Linked DNA regions of Homo sapiens: all the other regions are linked to region 2. The links are contacts of gene promoters, found by promoter capture Hi-C in blood cells and fetal thymus (Javierre and others, 2016). All regions are on one chromosome and are shown on one strand. The core of a region is centred on a gene start or on the middle of the fragment in contact, and the rest is flanking DNA. Distances in the headings are between cores, read along the strand shown.

What was found. Contacts are between HindIII fragments. The CHiCAGO score rates a contact against its expected background, and 5 or more counts as called.
Region 1: a contact is called between the fragment with the promoter of TCEAL9 here and the fragment with the promoter of BEX2 in region 2, in 1 of 17 cell types (erythroblasts). The highest score is 5.8, in erythroblasts.
Region 3: the fragment with the promoter of TCEAL5 here is called in contact with the fragment with the promoter of BEX2 in region 2 in 1 of 17 cell types (fetal thymus); the score reaches 6.3 in fetal thymus.

The regions. Positions count from the first base shown.
Region 1 is chrX:103,354,991-103,358,255 of GRCh38, forward strand. It overlaps TCEAL9 (transcription elongation factor A like 9), which reads left to right and starts at 1,516. Exons shown (of 3, transcript NM_016303.3): 1 at 1,516-1,616; 2 at 2,093-2,171; 3 at 2,625-3,265. The coding sequence starts at 2,695. The coding sequence ends at 3,009. It overlaps LOC124905204 (a long non-coding RNA gene), which reads right to left and starts at 1,574. Exons shown (of 2, transcript XR_007068284.1): 1 at 1,464-1,574; 2 at 1-486. RefSeq lists an enhancer at 969-2,168. The HindIII fragment of the contact is 9,435 bases long and covers 1-3,265 here.
Region 2 is chrX:103,309,016-103,312,590 of GRCh38, forward strand. BEX2 (brain expressed X-linked 2) reads right to left here and starts at 1,975. Exons shown (of 3, transcript NM_032621.4): 1 at 1,845-1,975; 2 at 1,343-1,418; 3 at 331-966. The coding sequence starts at 961. The coding sequence ends at 575. RefSeq lists a silencer at 1,711-1,800. The HindIII fragment of the contact is 10,238 bases long and covers 1,612-3,575 here.
Region 3 is chrX:103,275,165-103,278,540 of GRCh38, forward strand. TCEAL5 (transcription elongation factor A like 5) reads right to left here and starts at 1,586. Exons shown (of 3, transcript NM_001012979.3): 1 at 1,509-1,586; 2 at 111-178. The HindIII fragment of the contact is 11,652 bases long and covers 1-3,376 here.

The sequences.
Region 1 (3,265 bases), core at 266-2,765, 46 kb after region 2:
TGGCTCTATATGAATGATCAAACTTTTCTTAAACCAATTTCCTTTTAGAAACATATAAGTTTTTGGCTCTTTAAAAAAAACACTATTGCCACAACTACTACAATGACCATATTTGGCATAGGAGTATTAATGTATGATAAATCTCTAGAAGAGGAATTGATGTGTCCAAAAGCACATATCTTCTAAAGTTTGATATTGCCAAAATGACTTCCAAAAATGTTGTACTACTTAATAGTCTCACAGTACATGTGAATATTTGTTTTACCATATGCTCATCAACTCTGAATATAATCAATATTTGTCTTTTCTAATTGTACAGATGAAAAATTAACTCTTATTTTTATTTTCAATAGATCTCAATTCTATGAGCATATGCTATTATTCCCTTCTTTCAGATGAGGAAACTCAGGTTCACAATGTGTACCTGACGATTAATTGATGATTCTTCAGGCAGCACAGCTTCCTGGTAACACCACCATGAGGACTCTGGAATGAAACATTACTCTTTTTTAAAAAATTCTGTATCATTTTCCTCACAAAACTTCTAATATCACAACAGCTTTCACTTTAAAAGCACTTACTATATGCCACATGTACAATAAGCACTGTACATGTATTAACTCATGTCATTAAAGTAATTTTTTCTTTGTCTTTTCTGACTATAAAAAGATAAAAGTTGCCCAGTGCAGTGGCTCAGGCCTGTAATTCCAGCCCTTTGGGAGGTTGAGGCAGGAGGATCACTTGAGCCCAGGAGTTCGAGACCAGCTTGGGGAACATAGACCCTGTCTCTACAAAAAAATTAAAAGACTAGCTGGACATGGTGGCACACACCTGTAGTCCCAGATACTTGGGAGTCTGAGGCAAGAGGATCACTCGTTTCGAGGAGTTTGAGGCTGCAGTGAGCTGTGATCGCACCACTGCAACCCAGCCTGGGCAACAGAGTGAGACCCTGTCTCAAAAAAAAAAAAGAGAAAGAAAGACAGAAAAAAGAAGAGAGAGAGAGAGAGAGAGAGAGATTAAAGTTACCTTTTTAAAAAGGATATAGAAGTACGAAAAATAAAAAGTAAAAATTGCATTCAGAAATCTCACTCTTGTTCCAGGGTCTTTTTTTGTTGTTGTTTCACAACTGCTGCCAAGGCCACCCTGCTCTACAACAGCTAAGAACCAGATTGCAGAGGAAATGGAGGCTAGAGGAGGGACGACTGATGGAGGAGTTATCCTGGGAGTGGAAGAATGGAAGAGACAATTCTCGAAAGAAGTAGAAAAGTTCAGTAGCTCCAGAAAAAGAGGTAGCCCCTCCCTAGTAATCAGAGTCAAGCAAATAACATTTTTCCCGCTGGGATAGGAAACAACAGAAAAGACTGACAGGGCCAAATGTATAAGTGGGGGGCGGGGAGGGAGAGAGGGTGGGCCCACTTCTGCCGCGCTTTTGGTGGGAGTGGAAATTAGGGACCCGAGCTCACTGGTGACGTAGATCTCATGTGACCAGGAGTCGACGTGTGCAGAAGTCCTGGTAATCTGGTCCTTGTTCCCGTCTGGATACCAGCTTCCTTCAGCAGCGCAGGCGGTGGTCCCTGAGGCCCGTGGAAGGAGTCAAACTTGCGGGAATTTTGCAGGTTGGTGTCACTGTAGGTGTTGACTGGGGATTTCTAGTGTGGGGGGGTTTAAGGCAGAGACTTGTGGGAGTGCCGGTCAGGTCCGTCCCTCCACCCTCCACCTCCAGGTCTACGGGAACTGATGACCCTTGGGAAAGGGACTAGGGGTCCTAGGAGAAGAACAGGGAGACCTGTGGTAGTTTAAAAATAATCATCCTCTGCTATCTAAGACTGCTTTCCGGACCCCCACCCTCCTCCCGAACCCCGCCTCAGTCTTAAAGATAGTTTGGAAATAATCTGCTTTCTCACTCTTTGTCTGATGGGAAAAACGAACTGACTTGCATGCACTGTGGAGAGGGGGTGAACTAGGGGAAACAAAAGGTGGGAAACTTTCCATATCCGAAACCCTAAAGGAGGAAAGCTACGTGTGTCAGTCTCTGGCGCTGGTCGGCCCACCAAGCGCTCGCCCCACCCCCACCGTCCCCTCCCGTTTCCAGTTTATCTGCAGGGCTGTTGTTTCCAGCAAGACCCAAAGCTAGAAAAGGAGGAGGAAGAAACTGACCCGATCAGTGCCAGGTAGGTGAGAGGAATATTATAAAGTCTCCTGGGGTGGAGACAAAGGTTGTAAGCGCCACCGTTCCTGCCGGCTCCCTTCCACCCCACCCCTTTCCCCTCTTCTTTTCTCTCCCCCTTCTCCTTTCCCCTCTTCCTCTGCCTGCCAGCCACCTTTCTCTTTTCTGGCCTGGTCCCTGTGTTAGGCCCTATGGGGGAAAAAGGTCTGGGGAGGGCTGGACGGCGGAAAGGAGGGCCTTGGAAAAGGTTAGAGGGAAGGACAAGAGAGAAGTGAGGAGGTGGAAAGTGGAGGTAAAAGGAGTGGGGATAGTGAAGCTCTGATTGCTGACTGGGCTTCTTAGGTGGAAGATATTTTATAACAGCTCTGAATAAAAAAAATTAAATGCTAAGGCCTCTGTCCACAGCACCTGTCCACTCACCAAGTCTTTAACTTACTGTCTTCTTTTTGCTTTCTAGAAGTCATTGTATTCAAAGAAGAATAAGCAAGAAAGAAAAGAAGGAAGGAAGAGAGGTAGACAGATACAAGATGAAATCCTGTCAAAAAATGGAAGGAAAACCAGAAAATGAGAGTGAACCAAAGCATGAGGAAGAGCCAAAGCCTGAGGAAAAGCCAGAAGAGGAGGAGAAGCTAGAGGAGGAGGCCAAAGCAAAAGGAACTTTTAGAGAAAGGCTGATTCAATCTCTCCAGGAGTTTAAAGAAGATATACACAACAGGCATTTAAGCAATGAAGATATGTTTAGAGAAGTGGATGAAATAGATGAGATAAGGAGAGTCAGAAACAAACTTATAGTGATGCGTTGGAAGGTTAATCGAAACCATCCTTACCCCTATTTAATGTAGTTTACCTTGATTTTTATCTGATATTAACAATACCATATAGCTTGCTTTTTATTAGCATTTCCTGATATTCCTTTGTCCATATTTCTACTTATAACCTGTTGCTATTAATGGTTTTAGATGTATCTCTTGTTATCTGCATCTCATTGTTTATTGTATTTTGAACCAATCTACAAGTCTCTGTCTTTTAATAAAAGAACTTTACACATTTGTAAAAAAGAGGTTCTTGGTAAGATATAAAATGGAAAAAGGCTAAGTA
Region 2 (3,575 bases), core at 725-3,224:
AAAGAGATGTGTCTCTTACATTTCTAAAAAGAGAACCCAGAGGCAAGCTAAAATTGAGATTCTGTCACAAGTGTTTAGTAAGTGCTCACATCGCTTTTATAAGGTGGTCACATTGCTTTTTATCAGTAATACGTGTTCCATTTTGAAAAATAAGAAATTATGGGTAAGCAAGAATAAACTCCCTCTTAATTCTACCACAGAGATAAACACTATTTACTATATATATGTGTGTGTGTGTATATATATATATATATATATATATATATATATATATATATATGACTGTTTAGGTGCATGTTTAAGATTTAAAGTAAAAAAGAATGCAGAGAATGCTTTTTAAAACTGTTTTATTAACTTCACAATATATAATGAGCATCTTTCCATGCAATAGGTAAAACTCTCCTGCTGACAGAAACTTACAAACTGGGTCAAAAACAACATTCATTTAGAAGCTGGTAATAGGAGACCCACAAGAAATAGGTAACATCAAAACGTTTACGACAAAGGTACACCACAAATGTGTAAGTTTAGGAAGCAGGGGTCTCCCTATTAACTTCAGGGAAACCATCAGGATTCAGGGCATAAGGCAAAACTCATCGTGATGGTCATGGTGAGGGGGATCAGTGCTGACTGCCCGCAAACTATGACTCAACTGCTTTTCCCTCAGCTTTTCCATCAGCTGTCTCACCTCCTCCCCAATCCTTTCCATATTCTCCTCTCTCATCCTTGCCTGTGGCTCTCCAAGCCTATGCATTATGTCCCATCTATACTGCAGGATGGGCTGCCTAACGCGGAACCGCCTACGGTTTCCTCTAGGCACACAGTATTCACTAACATTCAAAGGTAGGGCCAAGGGCTCCCCTTTATTAGCAACTTGCTCCTTTTCATCTTTTTCATCATTTTCCTGGTTGACATTTTCCACGATGAGATTGTTTAACGCTCGTTCCTCTTTGGACTCCATTACTCCTAGGAGACAGAGAGAAAATGGACTCAATTCTTGGTGAACTGATCAGCACCGAGGACAGAGGCCCGACTACCCACCTTTCAAAATTCAGAGCCCTGGATTTCAAAGGCCTTTTTTAAATTTCATTTTTTTTCCACCAGAGAGGCCCCATGTACCCTCGGGGGGGCGAGGGGAGCCAGTCTGTGCCCTTCTCTCCCGCAAAGCCCACCATCTTCTCTGCAGATCCATCTCCAGGCCTCTGCAGGCACCAAAATGGAGGACGAAGAAGGGGTGGGGGTGGGGGATTGCTAAGTGTGGGGGTGAAGGCACGGATTGGGGTCTCAGACTGGGCTTTCCTCATGTTCTGACCCCCTCCCCACCACCGTCCCTCGCACTGACCTGGGCCTATCCTTGCAGTCTCCTCCTCCCGATTCTCGACGTGAGGTGCGTCGCCGCAACACTTGGCCCCGCAAACCTGCAGACGGCCGGGGTGGGAAGAGTGGGGGCTGCTGCAGCGGAACGCTAGAGAGGACCCGCCGCCACCCGGCCCCTTCCCCACGCCGGGCCCGGGCCCTCCTAGCCGCTCTCGCCCCCCGCCTCAGCCGCCCAGCCCCCCAAGCTGACCACCATTTTCTGCATCAAGAAGGGCGGAGCAGGGGTGTTGGAAAAGCTTGCGCTGGTGACGGAGGCAGGTGCTTCCGAAAGGTCGTAGCCTCAGGATCGCCGGCTCCCGCGGGGCCGGGCACCCCTCCGCTCACACAAGGCTCGCGGTCCCGCGGCGGGGCCCCGGGGCTGCATCGTGGACCGGCTGCGTCTCCGCGCTGCTGCCCGGGGATGGGGCATCCGCAGGCCGGGGCTGCTCCCCCACACCAACCCCAGGGACCCCCTCCGGGTCCCTTACCTGCTCCCCCTCCGCTTCCTACTTTCGGGGCCGTACCTGGCCCGCACGTCCTCAGGGACACCGGGAACAGGTACCACTGCCGAGAAGGGAGCGAGCGACGGCGGTTCTGACGCCACAACGAGGTAAGACTCAGTGTTGGCCGATCACGTGTGGCTGTTGTCATCGCCAGAGGCTCCGCCCCCGTCCCACGCCCCCTCCTGCAGCCCGGAGTCAGGTGGTGCTTTCGGGCCCGCCCCCATCCTCACCGGGAGTCCCTTTTAACATCCCCAGCCTGGGCTCTGCCACTCTTCCTTCTCTGTATATTCTTGAGACTTCCCCTGCTTGCCCAGGAAGGACGGAAGGTATCTTCTCAGGGAGCTGTTGGCCATTCCCACTTCTCTGGGGACTTGCCTCTCTCTGCCCTTGGCTCCCAGGATTCACCTCCTTCTGCCTGTCTACCTCCTTCTGTCCTCCTACCAATATTCTCCGTTTTCTCTCCACTAAAATGAGTGGAAGAGGTGTATCAGGAAAGGAGCACAAGAGAGTAGGCTTTTCTCATTCTTAATACCTTTTCTGTATTATTTCTTTTGTAAAACACAAAAAATTAATATACTTCTTTAAAAAGGAAAAAAAGTTATTTTTACTTGAAAGACGGGATTAAAGTTGGGCAAAATGTCCCAACCACCTGTCCTGTTAAGTCATTATATAAATATAGACTCTACACGCAGCTGCTTTTTTAGAACTTGGAAAAGGACAGGGCAGCTGATGGCTCCCCTTTTGAGGGGCCCCTGGACACATGAGGCCCTTCTATGAAATGAGCTAGTGAGTTGTAGTGCTACAGAACCTTGTTGGGTTTTCATAACTAAAAGGAAAAAAAAGGCCTTTTTCACAAATTTCTGGTTCAAACGATAAGTATGTCTTTATTTAAAGATCAAGTAATCATGTATTTAGGAAATCCAGAGACATCTACGGTAAACCTACTATAGGAGTAAGAATTGATTTTAAGAAGGTTGCAGCTACAAGATAAATATTACAAACGTACTCATAAATTTATTTGAAAATGCAAAGGACCTAGAATAGACAAATAATTTTTTTAAAATATCCTACAAATCTTGAGAGTTACATTATATTATTTCAAGACTTAAGGTGTAATAATAAAGTTAGTGTAGTAGTAAACATAGACCTGTAGATCAATAGAACAGAATAGACTCCAGAAATAGACCCATACGTATGTTGTTAATTAGTTTTTGACAAAGATATCAAAGTAATTCTATATGGAAAGTATAGTCTTTTAAACTAATGGTGCTGAAATAACAGAATTCTTAAAGGAAAAAAAGGAGCCTTGCCTTTTATTTATACTATACACAAATTAATTCAAAATGGATCCTAGGCCTAAATGTAAAAGCTCAAATTAGAAAACTTCTAGAATAAAACATACAGAAAAACTTTACAATCTTTGAGAAAACAATTCCTTAGGACACAAAAAGAACAGATCACAAAAGAAAAAAATAAGAAATTGGATTTATCCAAATTAAAAACTTCTACCATTTAAAACACATGGTTAAGAAAATGAAGTGAGAAGCTGGGAGTAAATATTCACAGTATTTGTATCTGACAATGGTTTTGAATTCAGAGCATATATAAAGAACTTCGAAAACATAAAATAAGAAGGCAAATAATGCAGTAAAAATGATCAAAAGATCTGAATAAACATTTCACAAAACTACACACACAAATTACCAATGAGCTCAT
Region 3 (3,376 bases), core at 336-2,835, 34 kb before region 2:
AGAGGGAGGATTGGAGGAGGGGTGGCAGGCAGTGGCCTCCCCAACTTCTGCTCTGGCTTAAGTTACTCCTACTCCCAAGGGTCCTGGTGCAGTAGCCCTCTCCCACTGACCTGCACCGATACTGCAGGTCTTTCCTTTTCTTGTCTGGGTTAGTGCCCACAACCACAGACTTGAAGACCTGCAGAAAGACAAGAAACAGGTGGGTGAATGAGAAATTGAGAAAGTGAATGACTGGTAACTTGGACACTGGTTCTTTGGGACCGTATTTGTCAAAACTTTCCGAGCTCCTATCACCTCCTCGCCTTTTCCCTTGCATTCTCTGATTCCCCCTCCGCGCGCAGCTCTTTCTTAAGAGCCTCCATTGTTCTACTTGTGGGAAATAGGCGAGAAAGATTATTTCCAAAGCGTTTCTATGTTTCTGAATCTTCCTCCCAAATTTTTATCTCACTTTTCTGGCACGAAAATGAGTAGGGTTAGAGACAAGGATGTTCTGAAGACAGAGTGTTCTGATGCACTCAGATCTCTACATTCCAAATCCCTCACCCTAGGGTAGCCAAATAGCAGAGCCCACCACTTCTCTGAAAATGGTGATGACAGAGATAGGGGGCAGGGCAGAAATGTCCAAAACACTCCTGCCACCTCCTCCCTCCCCACATACACAGAAAGCCCACATTTTTCTGCAATGCAAGAGACAAATTATTTCCAAACCCGGTAACATTTTTGGTCTTGCTGCTACCTCATCTCAATCCTCCTACTTCAGAAGCCACTCCTCCTGGATAGGGAGCTGATCCCCAGATCAAACCTCTGTCTCCCTTTTTCTACAGCACCTCCTTCCCCTGACCCCCTTAGCCCACCGTTTCCGGCTCCAAAATGGAGGGAGGTTGGAGAAAAGACACAGGGAACTCAGGCCTGGACCCGTTGCAGGGTCCGCCCTCAGCAGCCTGGGGTCACTGACTGTGCCCGCCTCCCGCTGCCTTGCAGGGATCAGGCCGTTTTCTCGCCGTTTCGTCGCTGTTCTCTTCCCTGGTCCTCCTCCTCCTCCATCAGACATCACCCGGTCGCCGGCTTCCTAGGAGTTCCCAACTGGTACCCAATTCTCAACCCTTGACCTCTCTCGAGTTCCGCCCCCCTCCCCCCTCCCCGCCCCGCACCAAGCCCTCCATTTCTTGCACCAAATGAGTGAGCATCGGGAAAGGAGTGGAGAGAATCCAGTCCTGGACCCGCTCTGGTCTTTGCCCTCTGCCATCCCAACCACAGGGATCCACAGGCTGTGGATGGGTTCGTAGCCATCTCGGGGAAATGACTCTTTCTCACATTTCCTTCTGCCAGAAGCCTGCACTTCTCCAGGGAAATAAAAGCTGGTACCCATACCTCTTGCCCAACACAAAAAAATTTCTGCGCCAAAATGAATGGGGGTGGAACAGGGCGGTATCTAGAAAGCAGATCCGATCCTCTGTAGCCTATGTGCATTACCATCCCTACCTCAGGGGTCCCCGGCTTGTACCGACCTGCAGGGCTGTAGGGCAGTTGCCTTCTCTGTCCTTCAGTCTGAAGTCTGCCTTCCTCCACGGAAACAGGGATCTGGTACCTGGAGGAGAGGGACTTCTGCACACGTCGGCTTCAGATCACGTGAGAAAAACGTCACCAGTGGGCTCGGGTCCCTAGTTCCCCTCCCACCCGCAGAAAGTGCGTCAGGAGCCAGCCCACTTCTTCCCTTCACTAGTCTGTCCGTCTGAGCGCCCTCAGCACCCCCAACCCCGGCTTAGCTCTCTCTCTCGCCCCACAGCACGGGGCCCTGTCACTCATTTTGGTCTTTGCTAATCCCACAGGTCAAATGTGGCCCTTTCTCTGTGTAGTATGTATTTATTCTTCCGTGGTTATCAGGGAGGGACCGCACCTTCTTCTAGAGCTATTGGCCATTGGTACATCTCAGAGGAATTTTTTTTCTTTCTCTCCTTTTATCCGAAGGCACCTACTCGATCTAATTCTACACGCAGCCACTGATGTTCATTCTGCCTGTGAACCAGACCTTCTCATAATGGGTACAAGGTGGATTGTCAAGTAGGGACACAAGTAGTTAAAATAGGGGTTTTATTTTTTTAAATTTTTTTGATCTTATTTAATTCACTCTCCTCAGCATGGGTTATTCTTATAAGCACAAAATTAAATAAAGCTATTTCATTTATGAGAAAGTGTTTAAGAGAGAGAAAAACTTAAAAGATTTCAAAATTTTCTACTCAGAAGAGAGACCAAATTAGGTTCATAATATTAACTTTTGCCATATACACAAGGAATTCAATTGGCAACAAGCAAAATATACATTAGAAATTTTTCATAAATAGCTGGTTCTCTCACGTTCTATTTAACACACACACACACACACACACACACACACACACACACACACACACACATTTAATGTTCCCAAACGATTACTGAGTGCTAAATAGACTTGCTGGAATCTGATGGTTGAAAGAAAATTCAAAAATGTCTCTTTAAAAAATTTGGCTCATGGCTATTTTCATTCAAATGTTTAGCTCTAGGGGAAGGGAAGAGCTGTGAGACCAAGGCTGCAGGAGATGTGAAGGATGCAGAAATGGTCCTATCCTCCCTGCCCTGCCAAGATCAGGGGAAGGTGTTCTTCTCCACCCCCTCATATTCTAGAATTTCTCATCCCCTGCATTTCTCATCCCCAGGCACATGACTCTGTTGCTCAAGAGTCATCTGTCCAAGAATATAACTGGACAGGTGACCAAGGTGGTGATATGAGTAAATGCCTTTGGCTCCTTCCCTCCTCCCTCCCCCTAATTCCCACAGGGATAACCCAGCCCCAGCACAGAGTGGAGCATTGTTCATGCCTCTAGAAAACTAGAACAGATCTCTTCTAGACCCTTGCAGCTGAGGGTGTTCATGAGGCCTGAAGTGATTGCTGGGGTAGAGTCCCCTGCAACCTGCCTGCTCTCTGCCCTTATTCACAGTGCCTGAGTGGAAGCCTCCCTAGACCCTGTCTGTTACCTCCCGCCTAGCCTAAAAAGTGCAGTCTGGCGGGCCTCTCACCCCCAAACTCTGTATCTTCAGGGAACCCAGAGGGAGCCTAACCTTGCTGCAGGATTGCTGCCTGCCAGTCCATACTAACCTATGACTGTCTCAGCAAATTTAGGCCAGTGTCTAAGGAGTTCTGCCATGCTGTCCATATTGACCTAGACCAAGTATTCCCAATTGATGAAGTCTGTGGGCCACCTGAAAGGGCATGTAAAATTGCATATGTTTAGGAAGTAGTGGAGTATGCACACTCTTGTGAGAAGAAGATCTGTACCCTAGGAGCCTGAATAGTGTTTTGTTCTATTTGCACACCCCATTCTGTTTATCCATCATA